Linked DNA regions of Homo sapiens: region 1 is linked to region 2. The links are contacts of gene promoters, found by promoter capture Hi-C in human tissues and cell types (Jung and others, 2019). All regions are on one chromosome and are shown on one strand. The core of a region is centred on a gene start or on the middle of the fragment in contact, and the rest is flanking DNA. Distances in the headings are between cores, read along the strand shown. Region 1 has its middle 9.3 kb from the start of MIR5680. Region 2 holds the start of GRHL2 (grainyhead like transcription factor 2).

The links. Contacts are between HindIII fragments. The study calls those that stand out against the background at their distance.
Region 1: a contact is called between a fragment that was not itself captured here and the fragment with the promoter of GRHL2 in region 2, in 2 of the 25 tissues and cell types used here (heart right ventricle and lymphoblastoid cells).

The regions. Positions count from the first base shown.
Region 1 is chr8:102,112,737-102,119,568 of GRCh38, reverse strand. It overlaps a transcript of NCALD not described here. Among named protein-coding and RNA genes, the nearest start is that of MIR5680, 9.3 kb to the left of the region's middle. RefSeq lists an enhancer at 6,583-6,832. The HindIII fragment of the contact is 4,908 bases long and covers 24-4,931 here.
Region 2 is chr8:101,489,650-101,496,252 of GRCh38, reverse strand. It overlaps GRHL2 (grainyhead like transcription factor 2), which reads right to left and starts at 3,814. Exons shown (of 16, transcript NM_024915.4): 1 at 3,464-3,814. The coding sequence starts at 3,483. GRHL2-DT (GRHL2 divergent transcript) reads left to right here and starts at 3,548. Exons shown (of 2, transcript NR_186782.1): 1 at 3,548-3,803. RefSeq lists an enhancer at 3,268-3,796. The HindIII fragment of the contact is 12,677 bases long and covers 1-6,603 here.

The sequences.
Region 1 (6,832 bases), core at 1,228-3,727, 620 kb before region 2:
AAATTGACCATTTTAACCATTCTTAAACGTACAGTTCAGTGGCTTTAAATACATTCACATTATTGTGCAACCATCACCACCATCCATCTCCAGAACTTCTTCATCCTGCCCAGCTGAAACTCTGTTTCCACTAAACACTAACTTCCTATCTCCTCCTCCCTTCCAACCTCTGGCAACCACTATTCTACTTTCTGTCTCTATGAATTGACTACTCTAGGTACCTCATATAAAAGGTATTTGTCTTTTTTGTGACTGGCCTATTTCACTTATAATAATGTCCCCAGAGATCATCCGTGTTGTAACATGGGCAGAATTTCTTTCCTTTTTAAGGTGGAATACTGTTCCATTGTATGTATGTACCACACTTTGTTTATCCATGCATCTGCTGATGGACGTTTGGGTTGCTTCCATCTTTTGGCTACTGTGAAAACACTGCTGTGAATATGGGTGTACAGTGATATGTTCAACTCCCTGTTTTCAGTTCTTCTGGGTATATACCCAGAAGTGGAAATGCTGAGTTATATGGCAATTCTGTGTTTAAGTTTTGGAGGAACATCCACTGTTTTCCACGGTGGTACCATTTAACATACCCACCAGCAATGCACAAGGATTCCATCAACACTTGTTATTTTCTGTTTTTTCTTTTAATATAATAGCCATGCTAGTAGGTGTGAAATGTTGAACACATTCTTGAAGGTAGGTTGGAATTGAATTGTGAGAAATAGTGGTAGAGTTTAAACTTCATTCTAGGGTCATGGGGAACCATTGGATATTTGTTGCCTGTGATAATGGCATGATCGGAAGGTTTGGACGTTAGAGAGGGGGTGGGGAGAAGAGGAAAGCAGCAGAGAAGTTATTTTAATTATTTAGATGAGAGAACATAATAGTTTTCCCCACATCTGTACAACTGAAAATATGTCTATCTCTAGTAAATGGTACTGAACTTGGGGAGGAAATGTAAATACGGCATCGAGAGATCTCATGGCCCAGGATTCCTCACAGAAGTAGACTACTGTTGCTAATAATAGCACTCATGCTAGCAAATGCCTAAAGGCGATTCAAGTATTGATTAATTCTGCTAAATCCTATGAAAGATTCCTCCTCCAGCATCCCATAAGGAGGCGGATGAACTGCTCAGAAGGCAGTAACTGAGGAAAGTTAATGAAGGGACTATTTACAAAGGTGCGGGTAAGATCAGGGAACCCACCAGAAGTGGCCAGCAGTGCATGCAAGCCTTCACTACCCAGCCCTGACAGCATGAGGTGAGAGAGCAGTTTCTGGAGTTGTTCAGGGGACAGGGCTGCTGGCTGGAGCTGTGGTTTTCAGTAGAGGAATATGACTACTGCCCATTGTGGCCTGGTGGGGAGGCATCCAGGTGGATAAAGGCCCCAGCCACTCTCTTCCACTCTCTGATCTGGTGCTGGTGCCTCCCAATTGGCCAAACTAGCCACAGCCAGACAGCAAGAAGGCCTGTTGATGTGGGACTATCTTGTAGTCCATAGTAGCCAACACAAAGTAGTGTTCTAATTATCCCCAATTTACAGGTAAGTGAACCGAGGCATTGAGAGGTTGAATGATTTACCAACATTGGGAGCTAGTGCAGGTTATGGAGCTGAAATCTGAAGACTGACAAATAATCAGAGATCATCAGCACATTTCTTCTGTATATGCAGCTGGATCTGGAAGGTTACGTTTTCCCCAACCTGTGTGTTTTGGTTCTTTGGAAATAATCTGATGTGTACAAACTTGGCTTGGCTGTCAATAGGTGGTGTGGGTGCCTGCTCAGATCCCCCACTTTTTACAAAAATAATGTACTTTGCAGGCATATTTCATACTTGATTCATTGTGTTTAGATAAAAAGAATATTTTCCATATACTTGATGGGAGTGACAACATGTCCTTGAATCACATTTGCTACACATGAAAAAGATGTAAGTTGCGTTTTTTTTTTTTTTGAGTTGAAAGTGCCAACGGAGTTGACAGTGTCACCTGGCTGTTTAAACATTAGTGAGACCTTGGGCTGCAATAAGAGAATACTGTTCAAAGGAAGGGAGAGGATCGTTCCCTCTGTGCTGCCCTGACTGGTACAAGTTAAGGGGATTTCTCATGAGCTGGCGGATGCCGAGGACAGTAGCTGGGACTCTCTGGCCTGGAATCGCTCTGTGGGACTTTTATATTCTTTTCTTCACATACATGAAAGCACTGTACTGAGGGAAAGGGATTAGACTCATCTGGGGCCAGAACTAGGCCTACTGTGAACACGGAATGGGCTGCTTTGGAAGGCTTCATATAGTCCCTGGCCGGAGATTGTGAAGCTGAGGCCACAGGTGAGAGATGGGGCTGTAAGCTTATATTTGTTTCCTGTGGCCGCTGAAACAAATGACCACAAAATGGTGGTTGAATGCAACAGATATTTATCCTCTCACGGCTCCGGAGGCTAGAAGTCTGAGGCCGAAATGCCGTGCTTCCTCCAGGGATTCTAGGGGCGACTTCATCCTTTGCCTCTTTTAGCTTCTGGTAGCTGCAGCATTCTTGGGCATGAGGTTGCATCACTAGAGCTGCGCTGCACGTCACATTGCTTCCTGCTCTTCTCTGTGTGTCTCTCCTCTGCGCATCTTTTATAAAGACATTTGTCACTGGATTTAGAACCCAGCTGCGTGATCCAGAATGATTTTATTTCAAGATCCTTTATGACATCTGCAAAGACCCTTTTTCCAAATAAGGTCATATTCACTGGTTCCGGGGGTTAAAGCTTGGTTATGGCCAGGCCCAGTGGCTCATGTCTGTAATCCCAGCACTTTGGGAGGTCGAGGCAGGAGGATTGCTTGAGCCCAGGAGTTCAAAAACAGCCTGGCCAACAAGGTGAGACCCCATCTCTACCAAAAAATAAATAAATAGATAAAAATAAGTAAAAGAAAAAAAATTAGGCCTCTTGGCATGCACCCGTGGTTCCAGCTACTCGGGAGGCTGAGGTAGGAGAATCTCTTGGGCCCGGGAGGTGGAGGCGGCAGTGAGCCATGTTGACCCCACTGCACTCCAGCCTGGGTGACAGAGCGATACCTTGTCTCAAAACAACAACACCACCACCCTACAAAAGAAACCCAAAAAAGTCTTGGACACTTGGACATACTTTTTTTGGGGGTCACCACCATTCAATCCATGACAGAGCTCAGTAGTTAGGATACACGGCAACTATGGATTCTCTGACTCTGTTACGGTGCCCCTAGATTTGATTTACTGTCTGGATTCTAGGTTCCTTGACACACAGTAGAGGTTTTTGTTTTTGTTTGTTTTTGTTTTTGTTTTTGTTTATTATACTTTAAGTTCTAGGGTACATGTGCACAACGTGCAGGTTTGTTACATATGTATACATGTGCCATGTTGCTGTGCTGCACCCATTAACTCATCATTTACATTAGGTATATCTCCTAATGCTATCCCTCCCGCCTCCCCCCACCCTACGACAGGCCCCGGTGTGTGATGTTCCCCTTCTGACACAGTAGAGGTTTTCTAAATGCTTTTGATTTGATCATTTGCAACTTTATTCTAACTTTAAACAACAAAATAAACAAACACTTAAAATCTACCGTCCTTTACTTCTGAAATAAAGGGGTGTGAAAGAGGCTGTCAGAAGCCAGTTTGATCCCTGTCTCAGCTAAACGTTTTCTGGGCTTTGCTTTGCTGGATGGCATTGAAGGAAATGAATGGGAAAAAGAGCTGCCACTGGTCCTGTTCAGGCTTCTCACCTGGGGCTTTCCCAGATGCTTTTAGAAATATAATTTCTCAGAGGAAGGCTAAGGATGCTGGAGTCTTTCAGGAAAGGGAAGCAGAAGCAGCAGAGACTCAAGTTTCTAAGCCCATGCTTCAGGAAGCATCCACTACAAATATTGTTTGTGAATGCCATTGACCCATCCGCACGTCTTTTATTTATGTATTTTCAACAGTGAGCCCCAAAGTAGGGCCTGTGTACATCGGGCACATAAGGCAAGGTAAAGAGTAGCTTTGGCAATGGCCTGGAGAATTCGATGACTGTAGTCCATCAAATGAGGTGTATCAGAAAAGTCCACTCCAGGGCATCAATTATTCTGTTTTATTGTCTGCATTGATCGCATTAACTGGGGAAGAGCCAAAATCCATTCAGTCTGTGCTATGGAGTAGCAGGTGTAATTAAGGTCAGTTTCTCTCTAGGGGGCAGCTAATTTTGGTTTCTCAGCTGCTTTACAGTTTGACTTTAAAAGAGAGGAAGGAAAGAAAAAAAGGTAAAGTGCCCCTTCATGTTACCATCTTACCTATCCTACTGTATCATTGTTACTCTGGTTAATATTAACTTTGGATCCTTTTGCTTTAACAGTGTATCGGAATACTGTGATACTTACAGAATTTAGTCTCACTACCTGAAGAAAAGGTTTGCCTTGCAGGGGACCAACTACACAGTTTGTGGGGCTCACAACAAAATGAAAGTGTGGGAACTTTGTTTAAAAAAATTAAGAATTTGAAGATGGTGCTAGTGGAGGATTAATGCCAGCATGGGGCCCTGCTGAGTATGGGGCCTGTGTGATGGCACAGGTCACATGCTCATGAAACTGGCCCTGGCTTTGTGCATATGCTGAGGATGGTGTCCTTTTACCTACCTGGCACCTTAACTCCCAAAGAGTGACCAGGCCAGTTTCCTCTGCCTTGGTTGGAGCACAGCTCTTCTGTAGGGCAAGGGCAGTAAGAGGCCTGGATATCTCCTGTTGGCCCTTCCACATCCCTGGCTCCCTTCTCCACCTGGCTCTGTGCCCCAAGAGGTGATCTTTACCACTGGCGTCAATGGCCATCTTTTCTTCTGACTTCTGGTATAATTTGGCCAGAAATCAGCAGGAGACGGGAGGGTGGGAGGAGAGTGAGGTAGGGTATTTATTCCCCTGTCCCTCCACTGGGTTGCAAGCTGCAGCTTGGTGTGTGTGTGCTAAAGACCACAGCGCCTGCAGCTATCCTCTCCATATCGCCACCCTCTTTGGGTTCCTTCAGCCACTTCCTCCCCTCATGCCTTCAGGCCTAGGGTGGTCATGGCTTCCTGCTATTACTAGCCTTAGAGTCCTGCATCATCCTTCATTGCTTTCCTGAACCCCTGTATGACTTTCTTCTCAATAGCCTCTTCAGTAGGACTCCTCTGTAGGATTCAAGAGCAGCCTCTTTAGTTTTCTGGTTGGGCTTTAACTGATTTGGTAACCCTTGGACAGAGTTTGGCCACAGCTTGCTCTGCTGCAGGGCAGAAAGAGAGAAGCTGATGGCTGTGATAACACGTGACTCTGCTGGGCCAGCTCCTGGTAGGGATGGGTGATCAGAAGGCAGTACCTCCACATCTACAGTGGTGGAGAACGTATGTTTGAGAGCTAGACATTTGAATTCTCTGGCCTGACTTTGGGGAAGTCATCTCATCCATAAAATGAGCGAATGACAGCCCTTCACTTACAGGGCTGTTTTGAGCATGAAGCGAGATCACGTGGGCATCATGCTTGTCATAGTGCCTGGCACACAGGAAGTGCTCGAGAAGCATTGCTGCTTTTAGCATTAGTTCTACGGAGTGACCCCCTTGAGGGGATACACTCGCTACTCTTCTCTGATCTGAACTAAGGCACTGACAGCCTAGACTACACCAATGATTATCAAGTTTTCACTGATTCACGGTTGTTTGGGGTGCTATTTCTGTCTTTTCAAGTAGATTGTTCTGAAATTGTTCTTATCTTACATACCTTTTAAAAAACTAATATAAGTGCCCAACCCAGTAGGTAGCACATCATAACTGGCCAAGAAATGTTTCTTGGCTAAATATAAGACGACTACATAATTTATTGTTCACATTGGGACATTTTTGAGAGTGAAAGGGGAGGACTTTCCAGTAATTACAGCAAAACAGCAGGCACAAATGGGGACTGTCCTAGGCAATCCAGGTAAAGAAACATAGTTATTCTACTTAAGTGGGACTTAAGGCAGTTTTCAAAATACATTTTTAAAATTTGCCGGCCTACCATATTTTGTATTCGTCTGCCTTTGGTTTATGAAATAAAAACATGAGATTTGAAAAACATAGGCAAAAATATGTTTAACACTTCTAATAGATTCTTGGCCTGAATTTGAGGCAATGGGCCAGGGCCTCTTATCAGATAGAGACCTACTTTTACACTTTGTTACCCTGCTTTACACTAGGTACCTATTTATAAACTTTCTTCTGTGCCTGCTTTTAAAAAAGATAATCTCCTAATTATTGTCTTTCTTGCTATAGTGATCATTTATGCTTAAAGATGGCAAAAATAGATTTATATACATGTGTTTTTTGGAACATCTTTGTCTTTGTATTTCTGGTTGCCTGGGTGACATTTCCAAGAGAATATGTGCTAATCTGCTATTACTGAAACAGAGATAAGGTGGAAACTATTTTTAGGTCTGTCTATACCTTTCCTTTTCTCTCCTAGACCACTTAATTGGTTTATTTTTTTCTGTTTCCATTGTTTGAAGGGCATTCATAGCTTCTGTCTTGGTCCATTTTGCGTTGCTATAATGGAATAAGTGAGACTGGGTAATTTATAAAGAAAAAAGGTTTATTTGGCTTATAATTCTGATGTCTGTAAAAATTCAAGATTGGGCATCTGGTGAGAGCCTCAGGCTGCTTCCATTCATGATGGAAAGTGAAGAGGAGCTGGCACGTGCAGAGATCACATGGCCAGAGAGGAAGCAAGGGGAGGGGGAGGTGCCAGGCTCTTAATAATCAGCTCTCCACTGAACTAATAGAGTGAGAACTCACTTACCTCCCTCCTCCACCCAGGGAGGGCATTAATCTATTCATGAG
Region 2 (6,603 bases), core at 2,565-5,064:
CTCCTTAACAAAAAACACACAAAATGACTGAAATTATCATAAGCAAAAATGCGATGAGTAGGGAGAGGCAGTTTATCATGACCTGTATTTTTTTTTTTTTTTTTTGAGATGGAGTCTCGCACTGTCACCCAGGCTGGAGTGCAGTGGTGTGATCTCAGCTCACTGCAACCCCCGCCTCCCAGGTTCAAGGGATTCTCCTGCCTCAGCCTCCCAAGTAGCTGAGATTACAGGCACCTGCCACCACACCTGGCTAATTTTTTGTATATTTAGTAGAGACAGGGTTTCACTATGTTGATCAGGCTGGTCATGAACTCCTGACCTCGTGATCCACCTGCCTCGGCCTGCCAAAGTGCTGGGATTACAGGTGTGAGCCGCCGCGCCTGGCCCCTGTATTGTATTTTTAAAAACATTTTTGTAACTGTTGTATTTTTTGTGACTATTAAGCATTGTGTTTATTAGAAGTATGTCTGTCCATGAGTTGCTTTCCACTACAGTGTAAGCCCCCTGAGAACAGGGCTCATCTTATCCATCTTCGCATGCCTCTATTACGCCTATCTGAATGTGTTACAAATAGTAGGTAACCAGAAAATACACTTACCTAATGAAAAACACCTGTGAGTATCAAATCACATAGTACCTACACGTTCTCTAAATATATTTTATACATTTTGGCAGTAAAATAAGAGTTTCTTAATCTAGCATTGCTTCACTTGTACACATGCTTGCTGACAAAGATCTTAAATCTTCATAAAATTTAAGATGGAGTAGAGAATTTTAAAATATGTACAAAGACAAAATGTCCTAAAAATACTTTGTTTTAATTGGCGATAGCATCAACACTGCAGAACATCAAAAGCAGAACGTTTCAATCTGAAAAGTCCACACCATAAAAAAGACGATGCTACTTCAGTCCAGACTTGTTAACCAGAAATATCTTCCTGTGCAATCCCAAAGATTGCCTAAATCTCAATGGGATTATGAAAGAACATCCAGTGTGTGTTCGTTCATGTTATTTCCAGAAACTACAGGCAGGCCTCGTAAGGTGGATTTTCCATGAGGCTGATGAAGCCTCTCACTTGCTCAGGAAGGAAGCCCCACGCTGTACCCAGGGGCCCGTTTACTTACAGTCCCCACCCCATGTCACACACATAGTTGCATAAGCTTCAGACCCACCCCTGCCGGGGCTCCCTTAGAATATTAAGAAAACGAGGCTAGAATTCGCAAAAATGATCCAGAAGTCATGTATTGACTTAAAGCATTTTCAACAGCCCAATGAGAGAGAAACAAACCAGTTGAATTATCTCCTTGCACCATTGTAACGATTACTTTTCCCAGGATACAAAATTTCGTCTTGGAAACCACGACTAGATAAAAGCAACGTTCATTAAATGCAAGCATATGTAATCCCAGATACTTATCACCTGTAAAAACCAGGTGATGCGTGTGGTGAAACCAGATTGCGGGCGCTCAGTACTTATTTCTGATGGTAAACACATTGTTCTTATTGCTGCTAAGTATAACTGGTGAAAATAAAGACCGACCCGTTTTCATTCAGAATTCGAGTTCTGTTGTATCACAAAACTAAGCAAACTAAATGTTAATTGCGCGATTAATTAAATTAGATTTGCAATCATCTTTGACGCAGGCAAAGATCAAAACAAACCCCAAAAACTTGCTGTCGCCTCCGGATTTGGCTACTGAAAATTTCAAACTCGAGTCGTGTTTCCTTGAAGACTAGAGAGATATGGGGAGGAGCTGGGGGTGTTCTCAGACAACCACACACTCTCCTCTTCCTACCCTGCCTCTGACCCGCTCCCGTGTTGGTAACGCTAGTTCTTCCCCTCCGGTATGCTGTACTCGGTTAATTCCTCATCGGTGGCTAACGGGGTACAACTATCTGGCAGTTTTTTGCTTTTTAAGTATGACAGCGCATTTTCTTAGGTTCGCCTAACCTGCCAGCGGCTTTATGTTGAGGCTAGTCCTTCCCCTCCACCCCTGAACAGGTCCGCAGGGCCTTCCCACTCCTCCCTCGTGGTCCCTCAACTTGGGACGGGTCCCCGCCACTTCTCCATGACAGGCCCAGCGGCCCGCGGCCTTGGGGCACCGGCCCTCTCCGGCGAGACACCTTCAGGAAGGTCCCCTCGGGGTGGCCGCAACGCCACGGCAAAGTTACCGGGGAAAGCAAAAGGGCGGCCCCGCGCACTTCCAATAGGACGCAGCCAGTTCCCAGGCCCGGACGCGCCCGAGAGGAGGGGGAAGGGAGTGTCCCCGCCGAATCCCGAGAAAGGCCGCGGGACCCACCTCCGGCTCCCTCCCGCGCCCGCCCAGGCCCCACCTCCCCCGGCTCGCACAAAGCCTTCCGAGGGCGGGGGCCGGCCAGGGGGGAGGCCGTCAGGACGCGGCCGGACCGGGCCCAGTGACCCGCGGGCGGCTCCGGCCGCGCAGGCTGTGGCTCCCCGACGCGTCTGGAGTGCCTGTCCGGGACGGGAAGGACGCGAGCCCAGCGTTCCCGCCGCCCCGAGCCCTCGGCCTTGACGGCGAGAGCACCCCGAGAAGGCTCGGCGCGCCCCACGCAGTCCCGCCTGCCGCGTCCGAGGTGGCGGCCAACTGCGTGGAGGGCCGCGAGCTCGAGGGGCGTGCAGACGCCGTCGGGGGCGCGGGTGAATCGCTCAGTGGCAGGCGCCCCTTCGCGCCCCGCCGAGGCCCTAACTCGAGGCCTCACATGAGTTCCCCCAGTTCGCGAACCGTCCTTTCCCCCCGGGCACCTGAGGAAGGTGGCCAAACAATGCGGGGGCGGACCCGGGGGAGGGAGGCGGGGGAGGGGGGAGGAAGGCGGGATGTCGAGGGAGTGGGGGACGGCGCCGGCCGCCCCCGCGCCCCCCGGCCTCCCAGCGCCTCGCCTCCCATCGGGGCCACACGCGGGCGCGCACTCACGCCCACCCTCCTGCCCGGTGCGAGAAGATGGCCGTTTCTGCCTCATATAAAAGCTCTTTGTTGCGGTCACACAAAAGCGGCCAAGCCCCACTTTTCCAGTAGGCCCTTTGGACAAATCGAAGGAACTCAGCTGAACTTCCAAATGGCCCTAAACGCCAGATCGGTGGGAGCAGCTAAAACAGAGAGGGAAGAGCAGGCCTCCCGCGCCCATCTACCAAAACCTCTGGCAATATCCAAGTATTCATCCAGGAGCGGGAGCTGAGACCATTCCTAAGGGAAGAAGGAAAAGGAAAACCCACTTTTACTATCAAGGCCCAAAGGGGATATTAAATATTCACATTGTTGTAGGGTTTCTCCCCTTAATCAGGGTAGAAACATAATGCGGAAAAGTCTGGATCCACCAAAAAGAAAAAGAAAAAAGAAAGAAAAATACCAACAATAGCAACTTAAAAACAAAAACATAACAAACCAGTTGCCATCAGCCCAAAGTGGTAGTAGTAGCAGCAGCCGGCGCGTGTGATCCACTTACTTGTCCGACTCTTGTGACATGTTTGATCCAATGAACTTGCTCCGCTTTTCCTGGAGCCTCAGCCTCTGGTGAAACTGGACTTTCAAGTCTGTGCAGGTGAAGGTGTGTGAGAGCGCCCGAGATGGCAGAACAAGAGCTACAGGTAATTCTGCTTTTCCGTCCCCCCTCACCACTCTCGCTCGCTCGCCCGCTCGCGCCCTCACCTAGCCGGAAAGGTGGGATAAGGGGGGGCCCCTCACATGGGGCCCGAGCTCGGAGGCGGCCGGGCGGCGCGGAGTCCTCCTGGATCGTGGCAATGGGCAGACACAGAGCAGAAAGTGGCGGACTTGGGCGGCCACAGGTAACTTTCTCGCAAGGAGCTGAATTCTTTCACTAAAGGGTACAAGCCCGAGGGACGAGCTGCGCGATGATTGGCTGGGGAGCTCCCTCAGGTGAGCTGCCATTGGCAGAGGCGCGCTCAGGTAAGGCCCTTCTCCGAGTGCAGGTAACTCACTCCGAAGTTTACCCGAGTGGAGCGGCGGCATGCTTGCAGCTCGGCGGCAGCCTGTGAGAGCTGAGGGTCAGTTCTTCGAGTAGATCTCAAGCTGCGTTTTCCTCCTTCTCCAAAGCAGGGATGGGAAGGTGGAGGCTACTGGTTGAAGAGAAGAAAGGGGTTGGGGGAATGCAACACCTGCAAACACTAGGGATTGTGGGTCGAGCGGAAGAGCTAATGAGAGCCGAGCTCAGGTATCCCAAGTCAACCAGAATCAAATGCGCAGTACGCCACAAGGCATTTAATGCCCACAGTAACAGGGCTGTTTGACAGTGGCAGAAGAGGACGGGACTAAAGTTACTTTGTGCTGAGAGGGGGAAAGAAGCACAAAGTTTGGTCTGTTGCGTAATTGAATTTTTAACACTCTTATCCACAACAAACACTTTTTCGTGTCCTGCTGTGTAAAAGACATCAGATATATTACAGATTTTCAAACAGGTGAGCATCCTTTTACGAGCTGGGCAGGTGGGGAGTGGCGTGGTTTTGATGGAGTGAGGAGATTTGGTTGAATGAACGCTAAGATGGCCAGACGCACCTCTTCGATCTCAACTCTGCAGCCTGGGATTCCAGAGCTGCAAACAACCACTGAATTCGTTCTGTAAACCTGTTGTCATTTGACGTTTCCAGGCAGGCATCAACATTTACATTGTAATTCAATAGACGCTACTACTACAAAGGAGCTTTATTCTTCCAGCTTAATATGGTTGCTGCGGGAACACTGCAGGATGAAACTGACTTTTTTTGTGGTAATGTTTCTCCTGGTTGGGAACAACGCAAATTAGCAAAGGCGTAATTTATAACCGCTGCTACCAAAGAGTGAAGTATTTGTGGAAGTTCTGACTGGAATCTAGCTCGTACATATGGATTGTGGAAATAAAGGAGGACGTGGAAAGCTTGCCATATTTTATTTCAAGTTAATACTAAAGCTGCCAGACTTAATACAACTTTCTTTTAATCTTTATGGATCACATATTTTCTGAAAATTACATGATAAAACAAGGTTTGGTTTGTTCCATGTGTCCATTTTCAACAATAAATTTCAAAATTGTATTTTTAAAAAACAATATAAACACACACTTTAAAGAAATAATATATTTTAAGACAATGCAGGTACTATTTTAATATAATATTTTAAGATAATGCAATACCTATCATGTTCCTCTCCTTTTTAGAGGCAGCCATATTCTGCTTTTATCTGTCTCTTCTGTCATTTACCTCCCTATTTCTAAATAATTTGTACTGCCATCTCTTGATTTGCCAATAGATGTTGTGCTCTGACTACCTGTTGCTTCAGATTAGGATTTAGCTCTTTCATGCCAAGCAACTTCTCCTTCCAACACAGCACTTTCACAGTTTAGGAGCTAAGTAAGTGACTATGCCAATAGCAATGACAACACAGCCAATAGTGTACTATTCTTGTTTTCTTCCTTATAAAACCTTGTATCTATTTACTTAGTTTGTTATGCCCCATCCTGATATTTTTCTACAACTGATCTATCAAATGACTATCATGTTTATTTTCCAAATGATCAAACAATCAATTCCAATTTTGCCCTGAAAACAATTCCTCCAGAAATTCATTGTTCTACTGTTTCAGTGGAGATGAGTTGCTCTATGGATCCGCTTCTCAAGTGTCATCCTGGGACACTCTTTTTTTTTTTTTTTTTTTTTTTTTGACAGAGTCTCTCTCTGTTGCCCAGGCTAGTGTGCAACGGTGTGATCTCAGCTCACTACAACCTCTGCCTCCCGGGTTCAAGTGATTCTCCTGCCTCAGCCTCCCAAGTAGCTGGGATTACAGGCATGCACCACCAAGTCCAGCTAATTTTGTATTTTTAGTAGAGACGGGGTTTCTCCATGTTGGTCAGGCTGGTCTAGAACTCCCAACCTCAGGTGATCCACCTGCCTCAGCCTCCCAAAGTGCTGGGATTACAGGTGTGAGCCACCGTGCCCGGCCTGGGACACTCCTTAATCTGTAGTGTGAGAACCCCCATTTCTGTGTTTTGTGCCTTCTTTCTTGGTTTACTGCTTCATTTTCCATGGCACATGTTTTAGTAACAGCCCAAGAAAGGGTACAGAAGGTAAAAATTTGAGTTATTACATACTTGAATATGTCTTTATTCAACTTTTACTTTTACTAGAGTTTGACCAAGTGTAGAATTCTTACCAGAATTTCTTCATTCATAATTTTATAGAAATTGCTTTTCACTTATTTATTTTAATTTTTTAATTAAAAAAAATTTTTAGGCCATGCACAGTGGCTTGCACCTGTAATCCCAGCACTTTGGGAGGCCAAGGCAGGAGGATCACTTGAGTCCAGGAGTTCAAGATCAGCATGGGCAATGTAGCTAGACCCCATCTCTACAAAAAATACAAAAATTAACCAGGCATACTGGTGTGCACCTGTAGTCCCGGCTACTCAGGGGGCTGAGGAGAGGAGATTGCCTGACCCCAGGGAGGTCAAGGCTGCAGTGAGTCAAGATCATGACACTGCACTCCAGCCTGGGCTACAGAGCAAAACCTTGTCTCTAAAAAAATTAATTAATTAAATTTTTAAAAACAAGTTCTTACTCTGTCACACCACCTGGAGTGCAGTGACATGGTCATAGCT